2 separate regions of the Homo sapiens genome follow, and region 1 is linked to region 2. Evidence: promoter capture Hi-C in 16 types of primary human blood cells and fetal thymus (Javierre and others, 2016). All regions are on one chromosome and are shown on one strand. The core of a region is centred on a gene start or on the middle of the fragment in contact, and the rest is flanking DNA. Distances in the headings are between cores, read along the strand shown.

Region 1 (5,468 bases), core at 736-3,235, 2.0 Mb before region 2:
ATTTTTGCAAGAATCAGGTACTTAAAGTAATAAACATTTTTCTGTGGAATTGGTACTTCCATTTCTGCATGCCAAAAGTGAAATTTCTGAGCATAAGTATATTTTGAATTCCAGTAGCTACTTTCAGATTTTTCTTGAATGGTTAAAGCAATTCTTACTCATAACAGCAAAGTATGAGAGTCCTTTCTTCCTCCATACAATCATAAGTGATGGTAATAAATCATTTCTGTTTGGGTCAAATTGATTAATTTCTAAAGTAATCTATTGTCATTTTTATTTACATTTCCCCTTCCCCGAAAAGAATGAGCATAATTTCATTTGTTTATTGGCTATTTGCATTTCCACTTCTAAAGATTGCCTACTTCTATTCTTTACCTATTTCTGTACTGGATTTTTAAGTCTTTTTCAATTTGCAGAAGTTATTTGTGGATTAGAAAAATTAGCACTGGTTAGATCAACCTAAATACCCTTCAATGAGAGATGGATAAAGAAAATGTGGTACATATACACCCTGGAATACTCTGCAGCCATAAAAAACAAGATTATGTCCCTTGCAGGCACACAGATGGAGCTGGGGGCCATTATCCTTAGCAAACTAACACATGAACAGAAAACTAAATACCACACGTTCTCATAAGTGGGAGCTAAATGATAAGAACACATGGACACATAGAGGGGAAAAACACACACTGGGGCCTTTCAGAGAGTGGAGGGTGGGAGCAGGAGAGGATCCAGAAACATAACTAATAGGTACTAGGCTTAATTCCTGGATGATTAAATAACCTACAGCAAACCCCCATGACACAAGTTTACCTATGTAGCAAACCTGCACTTGTACCCCTGAACTTAAAATAAAAGTTTAAAAAAGAAAAGAAACAGAAAAACTAGCCCTGGCACCCTCCCAACTATTTTTCCTGAAACTATCAAAAAAAAAAAAAAAAAAAAAAAAAGAGGCAGTCTTGTTTCTGGGATCACTGCAATAAAAGCAATGGGAACCTACAGGTGCCAATGCCATATTTGCTGCCATGTAGATAGAGTTTGATAAAAAAGAAAGTAGATACAGAGAAAACGAGTTAGAGTGGGGGAAGAGAAAGAGCTAATGACATCATTTGGACACCTACATACAGCCATACTTGAAGCTGGAAGGGTTTATCCATTAAATTTCTGGGTTACAAGAGCCAATGATTTTCCTTTGGGGTTTGTGCTGGGTTTCTGTCACTTGCAACCAAAATCCTCCCAACTGTGGTGAGTTTGCGTATATTGGGACCACACCCTGATTCTAGAACAAGACCTTTGCATCCATAAGAACTGGACTTTCTAAATGCTGGGTCCAGGTAATATTTGAACTGGTCTCACCATTGTTCCTGGATAGCTCTCTGATTTCCTACTATGAGGCAACCTCTAGAGGATTCTTGGCTCAATAATGCACCAAGCTCATGGGACGAGTTCACAGTGTGTACCTGTTATATTGGTCACAACAAGAATTTGAGTCTCTACAAACCTCATGGCTTACACCACTGTATATTGGCTGGACGCACTTAAATGAGGTCCAGGCCGGAACATGTACAGAAACCCAAGTTATAAATTACAAGTTACTCTGGATAATTTTGGAAAGGGGGTCCTTGAATTCACAGGTCTGCCAGAAAGCCTATGCAGGCCGGATCTCCAAAGGCTCATTTGAAAACACAGTACCTTCCTAAACAGACTTTTATCATAAGGCTTTTTGCCTTTTCTTAAACTATATACCACAGGACTATTCAATAGCGTTGTAAGGGAAAGAAGAAAGTAAATAGAACTGTGCATTAGAAGGCTTTGTAAACTCTTTAGCAGGGGGTAATAGAAGTGCTCGATGTGAAGCTTCTGTTCTGATCAGGTGGAAAGGCAAGACATTGAAATACTAAGAGTTTAAATAAACTTTGAACATACCATCAGAATATTCCAAATAGGATCATTTAGCCATAATACATAGACATCCCCAACTACAACAACAATAATAGGAAGCACTAATATTTACCGAGTACTTGTGTGCCAGCACTAAATGAAACACTTTTTGTTAATTACTTCATTATTCTTCCTCATATAACAACCCAATGAAGTCAGTACCAAAGCTTAGAAGAAACTAAAGCTTATAGAGCTTCTATAAGGCAGGATAAGCTACATGACGCTGAAGTAACAAAAACCTCAACATCTCAATGGCTTAACACAACAAAAGTTTACTTCTTGCTCATGTTGCACAAACAATGCAGGCTGGCAGAGAAGACGCCACCCATCTTGGGCTAATGGGGCTTTTGTCTGAATTGTGTTTCCATGACCACTGCAGCAGGAGGAAGAAAACATGAGAAATTGCACTCTAGTCCATATGGGCGCTTCCAAATGGAACTGACAGATATTGCTTCTTCTTGCATTTCATTGACCAAACGAGTCCCATGCCCACATTTGACTTCAAGGTGAAGAGAGGGGAGGAGTATGATCCAATTCGTGCCCAGAAGTAACAGAATTGGAAATATTTAATTAACAGCATTGAACACAACCGCAGGGCACAAGCTGGTCTGTCCTCTTCTAGAAACAGAGATGTCACAATAACCTTGGAAAATTCAGTTTATCTTTGTGCCATTGCTCCAAGTGAAAACTTTAAAGTTGAAAATCTCTTTGTTTCAATTGCCCACATCATAACAGAAATTCTCTCTCTTTTCCCTCCGGACCCCCATTTCTGTCTGTAACACCTTCCTATAGGAATTATCATCTTTTCACTTTATTATAATAGAATTTGTGGTCTCCTGGGCATAAAACTCTTTAAAGGGACACATTTGAGTCAGGGGGGTTGTGAGGTTTTTTATTTTTTCCTCCAAAGAAAGTTTAAAAACCTTCATTTTGTATTCAGGAATAAATGAGAAGTGGTGTTATTTATAATTGGCTCCCTCTAATTCAGACTAAATATAGATTAATCCTAATTGATAAGACATAAAATTTAATTAAACCTTAATAAAGAACCTGGGAAAGAGTTCTCAATAGATGATATCAATGGTAATGTTGGATGCTGCATGCTGCAGTACTTCAGATAAAACACAATTCGTAGAAGTATTTTCAGGGCTTTGTGCAAGTCAAGATATGGGTCATTATCTCAAACAGAGCATTCATTAAAATTATGGATAAATCTGAGAGATGGTGTTCTCCATACAGCTCACCGATAAGAGCCTGGCCCACAAGAACTCCCAACAATCTCCTCAGCCTGTTGGTCAGGAGGACGCTCAGTTCCTTGACCTTGAAGCCACACTGAGTCACAGAAGTTGCTGTCACAGACTACGGTGTTATCAGATAAACCCCAACCCACCGAATATCCCATTGTAGAAATCCAATTAACAATGCTACATAAACATTACCCTTCTGATTGATGTTCCCAGCACGTAACATTTTTATTTCATGTACTCATGGTATGTTTATGTGTTCAGGAGTGATTGAGAACTTATCTTTCATGGTCAATCAACCTGGTGTCTAATTACTGCAAACATGAATAGAGAGCCCAGGCAGAGGGGAAGATCCAGCTCCCAGGAACGGAACTCCTTCCTTGCAAATGGGAGCATAGACACTCCAGTTCCTAGCAAAGTGTATCAAAGGAAGCAAACCCTGATACCTCCAGGTGTCAGAATTCTAAGAGGAAAGTGAGCTCAGTTGGCACCACAGCAAACTGGAGAGGGTCTGCCTGATCTAAAGAGGGCAACTTTTCTCTACTCTGCCCACAGTTGCCATGAAGGAATGAGGGTCCAATGATGGCAAATCATTTCACTCTTCTTTAAAATTTGTGTATTTGGATTGTAATCGGAAACAAAACCACGTTTTTAAATGGGAAGAAAAGACTTTTTTCAACAAAGTTTTTTTAAAAAACTTATTCCAACAAAGTTTTTTTAAAAAACTTATTCCTTCCCTTTGGTTATTCCTTCCCTTTGGTTCATTTTCCCCTTTAACAAATACTTAATGAATGCTTAATATGTCCCAGGCATTGTTGTAGGCACTGGAGATAGAACAATGAAGAAAACAAAGATCCCTGTCTTTAGGAAGCCTATATTCTAGAAGAGGGAGATTGACCATAAGCAATAAACATGATAAGTAAAGCATATGGTATGTTAAATGGGAGAGGTGCTAAGAAAAGACAGAAAAAGCACAGTGGGCAGGGAACTGGAAATCATGCAGGGGTTGCCTACTGATATTTAGACACAGTGGTCATACAGAAGGTGACGTTGGAAAACAGATTTGTAGAAGAAGAGGAAATTAGCCAGGCAAATATCTAGGAAAAGAGCATTGGAAGAAGGAATGGCCAGTGCAAAGTCCCCAAAGTAGAAATGTACCCAGTGTGTTCAAGAAACAGTAAATAAACTAGGTGGCTGAAATGAACTGAATGAGGGAGAGACTGGCAGGAGGTGAGAAGAGAGAGGCATCAGGGAGGGAGCAGAGCACGTGGGGCTTCCTAGGTCATTGGAATGACTTTGGTTTTTACTCTGGGGTAGTTGCAGAACCATTGGAGTGTTTTGAGTGCAGAAGAGACACAGACAGACTTGTATTTTTACCGGGATCCCTCTGGCTACTATGTTGAAAGAAGCCTGTAGGGATCAAGGATGGAGAGGCAGGGAGACCAGCTAGGAGGCTGTAGCAGCATCTAGGAGAGAGACAACAGTGGCTCAGACAAGAGTGAGGCGTTAAGAAGGCAATGGAGGTGTTAAGAAGTAGCTAGATTCTGGAATATCCAGAATCTATAAGGGACTTAAACAAATTAACAAGCAAAAAACAAACAACTCCGTTAAAAAATAGCCAAAGGTCATGGACAGACACTTCTCAAAAGAAGACATGTATGTGGACAACAAGCATATGAAAATAATGCTTAATATCACTGATCAGAGAAATGCAAATCAGAACCACGATGAGATACCATCTCACACCTGTCAGAACGGCTACTATTAAAAAGTCAAAAACAACAGATGCTGGTGAGGTTGCAGAGAAAAGGTAATGTGTATACAATGCTGGTGTGAATGTAAATTAGTTCAACCACTGTGGAAAGTAGTTTGGAGATTTCTCAAAGAACTTGAAACAGAGCTACAATTAGACCCAGCAATCCCATTACTGGGTATATACCCAAAAGAATATAAATCATTGTACCATAAAGACACAGTGCATGCAGCCAGGTGTGGTGGCTCATGCCTGTAATCCTGACACTTTGGGAGACCAAGGCAGGTGGATTGCTTGAGCCTAGGAGTTTGAGACCAGCCTGGGCAAGATGGCAAAACCCTGTATCTACAAAAAAAAAAAAAAAAAAAAAGCACAAAAATTGGCCAGGCATGGTAGCACACCCCTGTAGTCCCAGCTACTCAGAAGACTGAGGTGGGGGGATCACCTGAGCCCAGGAGGTCAAGGCTGCAGTGAACCCTGATTGCACCACTGCACTCCAGCCTGGGCAACAGAGTGAGACCCTGTCTCAA
Region 2 (5,571 bases), core at 2,538-5,037:
CTTTGAAAAGCACTTGCTGTATGGTAGACATTGTCAAGTGTCTTCCGAACATTATTTCAAATCACTCCTTCCACAGTATACAAGTCCATGCAATACTGGATCTGAGATGAGTGGGGAAGTCATTGGTCAATTTATACGGCATGGTTGAACAAAAATAAAACCACACTGGAATTTTCTATTGTCATCAATTCCAGAGTATTGAGAAGCATGGCAGATAGGATAGAGACAGCCTATAAGCAGGAAAAACTAGCTTAAATAAAATCATGATTCAAGTCCTATTCCTGCCTTCTGTAGCCTCCGTGACTTTGTATGTGCTATATAATCTTTTCAGCATTTTTTATATATAAATTATGACCTACCATTTATATTATTGAAGAAGTCAAAGGCTGAGATTCATCCTTGATTCTTTTTATTCACTCCCTATCAAAACCATCAACAAGTCCACCTAAGGTTGTCTTAAAGATCTATCCCATATCCGTCTGCTTACCTCCATCTCCAGTGCCATAACTCTTGTCTGAGCCACCGTCATTACTTGTTTAGTCTATTGCAGTAGCCTCCCGACTGGCATCCCCACATCCATTCTTGCCTCCTTAAAATATCTTCTCCACAGAACTGCCAGAGTGGGCTTTCTAAATGCAAATCTGACCTCTTTTTCTGAATGTTTTACTTTCCTGTATTACTTTATTTCAAAATCAAGTCACCAAGAAAATGAGTTACTTAATAGGATCATGTCTCTTTCCTCCTAAAATCTTCACGAGACTTCCATGCACCCACCCATTGCACTTAGAATAGAATCCAAACTCCTTATTATGTCCATAAAGATCCTTAATGGCATGTCTCCTGCTTGTGTCTCTGACCTCACACTTTATCATACTTCTCACTCAGTAATCTGCCATCCCAGTCCCCCACCTATGCCTTGAAAATGTCAGCCTCAGGCTTTGCACTTGCTGTGGCTTTTGCCTGGAGTTCTTTTTCCCTAGCTGGCTGCTTCTCCTCCTTCAGGTCTCAAAATGTCACCTCTTAAGGGAGAACATCCTTAGCCACCTCCCCACACTCTCTCCATCATATTGCCCTGTTCTGTTTTCTTTTTGGCAGTATCACCATTTGAAATCCTCTTGCTTATTTAATTGACTTTTTGCTTATTGGCTTTTGCCTTTCTATCATAGGCATGTAAACCTCTTGAGAGCACCAACCTTGTCTTACATGTTTAAAGCACGCCTAAATGTTCCTTAAATATCCACTGAATGAATGAATGTATCATAGGTTTTCTATAATAAGCAGACGATAGCAAGTTCAAAAAGCTGAGGTTGGTAGGATATTTAGCTACATGAAGTCACTCAGAGAACAAGGCTGATAGAGACTTTGCCATTTTACGATGTCACTATCTCCATATATGGTTTCCAGGAGCATTGAATCAGGGGAAGAGAGTACAGAAAACTCATACCTGCTCTTAAATAAATGCCCTAGGCCAGAAGTGACTTGTAACACTTCCACATGGAGTTTATTGTTCAGAACTAGAGTTTAATGGCCTCACTTTAGCTTTAAGAGAGGTTGGGAAATGAAAGAGGAGCACACATAGAATGTTTGGAGAGTTTTCCTTTGTCCGCTGTATACCTCTTGTTAAAGATGAGAAAATTGAGGAAAAGAGGGATAAGAAATCTGCTCAATGTCACAGAGCTGGTAACTGGTAAAAGCTAGACTCAAGCCCAGGCTGCCTGGTGCCAGAGCCTGTCTTCTTGTCCATGCCTTCATGTTGCAGTTCCACAGGGGAGAACTACTCAGATGCAGAGAGTGTGTCAAGGGCTTTTCCCCCGTCTCCATTCTTTTCCGAAAAGTGGCTGCTCCTTCTCTTTAGTAACAGAGGTTTTTTGGTTAGTTGTTTTGTTTGTTCGTTTCTTTGTTTTTTGGTACTTTGATGCTTTGGGTGTTTAAGGTTTAGCTTACCATGGCCAGTCAACTAGCCCTGCCTTCTCACCTCTCCAGTGACTGGCCACAGAAAGCTAAATATTAAAAACCCAAACTATCCTAGCTTGCCACACGGTCCTGTCAGGAATGTCCTGGGTGTCTCCAGAAATCTTTAGCCATGACTTTGATCAGAAATAATTTCTTCCCAGCTTCAATGAAAATACTGGAGATCCCTCATTCTCTAACAATGCCCCAAAAATGGCTCCAGTAGAAAAGTCATAGTACAAGCCGCTACCTATGACTACCTTGGTTTATCCAATGCAATATCACTATCAACCCTCCATCTAAATGCCTGGTCCAGGTGCTTTACAGGCTTGGTGTCACATAATCCTTTCAATGATCCCATGCAACAAATCTTATTAACAAATCCTGCTTCATTTTACAAATGTCAAGACCAAGCTTTGAAAGGAAAATGGTTCACCCAAGAGCTTTCTTGTGAGTGCCTGAGGTTGGACTTAATTAAGCTCAAGACTTTGGGATTCCAAAGACCCTGCATTTTACCAGGATACCAAATTGTTCCTCTGAGAATCCCAAGTGAATAAAAAGAGCCAACATCGACTATGCCCAGCACCGTGTGCTACATGCTTTTTATAAATTATTTCATCTAGTTCTAACAAACAAATGAAGAAGCAAAGAAAACACCCTGGGAGGTAGGTATTGTTGTTATCATTCCTATTTTACAAATAAGGTAGGTGTTGGGTGCTGTGGCTCATGCCTGTAATCCCAGCACTTTAGGAGGCTGAGGCGGGCAGATCACCTGAGGTCAAGAGCTCAAGACCACCCTGGCCAACATGATGAAACCCTGTCTCTATTAAAAATACAAAAATTAACTGGGTGTGGTGGCGGGCACCTATAATCCCAGCTACTTGGGAGGCTGAGGCAAGAGACTCAATTAAACCTGGGAGGCGGAGGTTGCAGTGAGCCAAGACCATGCCATTGCATTCCAGCCTGGGTGACAGCATGAGATTCTGTCTCAAAAGCAACCGAAAACCAATTAAGGGAGGTGAGGCCCAGAGCAAGAAGGTCCACAAAGATGACATGGAGGTTAAGTGGCAGACCTAAGGCTCAAACTCAGACCTTTCTGCCTCCAGACCTCCAGAGCCCAGGCTCTTATCCATTAGGCTACACTGACTCTCAGCTGTCATTTAAGGGAGACTATGGTGATGTAGGGCTGGGAAGGGGGAGCAGGTTAGCCACAGAGAACTAGTGAAAATGCACCATTGGATCTAGTTCATTCACACCCCTAGCCATGCCACCGGAATTGGAGGTGACTTCGTATACGTGGTTTGTTTTTCTTTTTTTTTTTTTTTTTGAGACAGAGTCTCTGTCTCCCAGGCTGGAGTGCAGTGGCATGATCTCGGCTCACTGCAAGCTCCGCCTCCCGTGTTCACGCCATTCTCCTGCCTCAGCCTCCCGAGTAGCTGGGACTACAGGCGCCCACCACCACACCCGGCTAATTTTTTGTATTTTTAGTAGAGACGGGGTTTCACCGTGTTAGCCAGGATGGTCTCCATCTCCTGACCTCGTGATCCGCCCGCCTCGGCCTCCCAATGTGCTGGGATTACAGGCGCGAGCCACTGCGCCCGGCCCACATGGTTTGTTTTCTAAGTGATTATCTCTCCGTGGAGGCCTGTAATTGTTTCTGTCCTATTTTACCTGAGCATCTCCTCCCCCTACTGAATTACCCAATTCCTAACAAGTTCTCTGTTCAAGGTCCCCCTTCGCTGTGGCCAGAAGCCAAGTTCTGCTGGGTGCACAATCCTGCGGATCACCTGATCAGAGAGAACTGAACCTACAAAAGAGAGCTCAACCTCCTTTTCCATACCTACCAGGGACCTAGTTCAGCTACGTCCTAAACAGTACCAGGTAAGACAGAGGTGAAGGTCAGCTTCTATCTGTGTGTGTGTGTGTGTGTGTGTGTGTGTGTGTGTGTGTGTGTGTGTGTAATCCAATTTTAAGTTCTGGCAATGCTACTTTTAAGTTGAGTGACCTTGGGCAAGTCACTTAACTTCTTGGCACTTCATTTTAGAGGCAAAATGACAATGGTGATATTGGGTGAGAGGAATAAATAGGAACGTACATGTAATATGTTTAGCACAGTGGCTGGCATGTAAATGGGGACTGGTTTAGTGTCAGGCAGCTCTGAATGTGGTGAGCCGTGGGAGACAGGCACAAAGTCAGAGATGAATGTTTGAAGGAAATCTTTTCTATCTATGCAGAAGTTGGCTCACTTTCTATAAAGTGAATGCCTTCTAAAAAAAATTATCCAAGCATAGTAATACATGCCTGTGGTCCCAGGTACTTGAAAGGCTGAGGCAGGAGGATGACTGTAGCCCAGGAGATTGAGGCTGCAGTGAGCTATGATCACACCACTGCACTCCAGTCCAGGTGACAGTTTCAAAAAAAATGGTTAACATCTAATGGGGAGGGGGTTGGCTTCAGAATTTGCTGGGAGTTAAAAGGTACCTCAACATTTATTGAGTCCTTACCGTGCACTTCATTCAGTGCCAGCAAGTAAATTATCACACTAATCCTTATGGGGAGCTGGGAAGAAGGTATTACTACTGTGCGCTTAAGTTCAGAGACATGAACAGCACCAAAGACCCAGCTGCTAGACAACAGAGACAAACATCTAGCCCTGGCTCTGTAACTCTGGGATACCCTATAACACAGTAAGTATGTTGCTTCATTAAATAGCTTTATCAGTCCCAAGTCCTGTGAAGTCAAAGCTTAGTTGCAGGAGCTGTTCAAGGCACTATGTATCTGGGAATACAGTGGGGAGCCCAGCTGCCTCTCAAAGCTACCATGTCAAATTGCTTTCAGAATGCACTTTAAGCAGTTCAGAAAATTGTTCTTTAAAATGATTTCATAGGATGTGCTTTAATGATATGCTCTAACAGGGTAGGAACTCTTTCAGTTTAATTAATCTCCAATAGTATCTAAAACTGTACATGGTACATCTATAGTAAATACTTGAGAAAGAAAAAATACATTTTTCTATAACTCAGATAATTTGTGGGCACACTGGCTTTTCTCTTTCTGACTTTCATCACTCAGTTTTCTGAATTATGACAAAGAAGGGAAGAATCTAACTTTTTGTTGAGCACTTACTATGTCCAGCACGGTGAGAAATAGACAAACTAAGCTTTGTGAAGTCAAATCTGAAGACAGATGTGGATGGAAATAGATATCGAAACAGAGACAGAGACGGAGATAGAGATAGAGACAGAGATAGTGATAGAGATAGAGACATGCATCACTTAACAACCAAGATACGTCTGAGAAATGCATTGTTAGGTGATTTTGTTATTATGGGAACTCATAGAGTGTACTTACACAAACCCACAAAGCATAGTCTTCTACACATATAGGCGATATGCTATAGCCCATTGCTTCTAGGCTACAAACCTATGTAGCTTGTTGCTGTATTAAATACTGTAGGCAGTCATGACACGATGGTAAGTACTTGTGTATTGAAACATAGAAAAGGTACAGTAGAAATATGTCATTATAATTGTATGGGCCACTCTGTATATGTGATCCATCACTGACAATGACATCATATTGTGGCACATGACTACAGTGTACATGTGTTATTGTTATAGA

The links. The method cuts DNA at HindIII sites, captures the fragments that hold promoters and counts their contacts. A CHiCAGO score of 5 or more calls a contact.
Region 1: a fragment that was not itself captured here is called in contact with the fragment with the promoter of ACSM1 in region 2 in 2 of 17 cell types (total CD4 T cells and total CD8 T cells); the score reaches 9.1 in total CD4 T cells.

Annotation. Positions count from the first base shown.
Region 1 is chr16:22,645,097-22,650,564 of GRCh38, reverse strand. No RefSeq gene overlaps it. Among named protein-coding and RNA genes, the nearest start is that of LINC02890, 34 kb to the right of the region's middle. The HindIII fragment of the contact is 251 bases long and covers 1,860-2,110 here.
Region 2 is chr16:20,695,896-20,701,466 of GRCh38, reverse strand. ACSM1 (acyl-CoA synthetase medium chain family member 1) reads left to right here and starts at 3,787. Exons shown (of 14, transcript NM_001318890.3): 1 at 3,787-3,831. It also overlaps a transcript of ACSM3 not described here and the pseudogene LOC124903661. The HindIII fragment of the contact is 2,330 bases long and covers 2,367-4,696 here.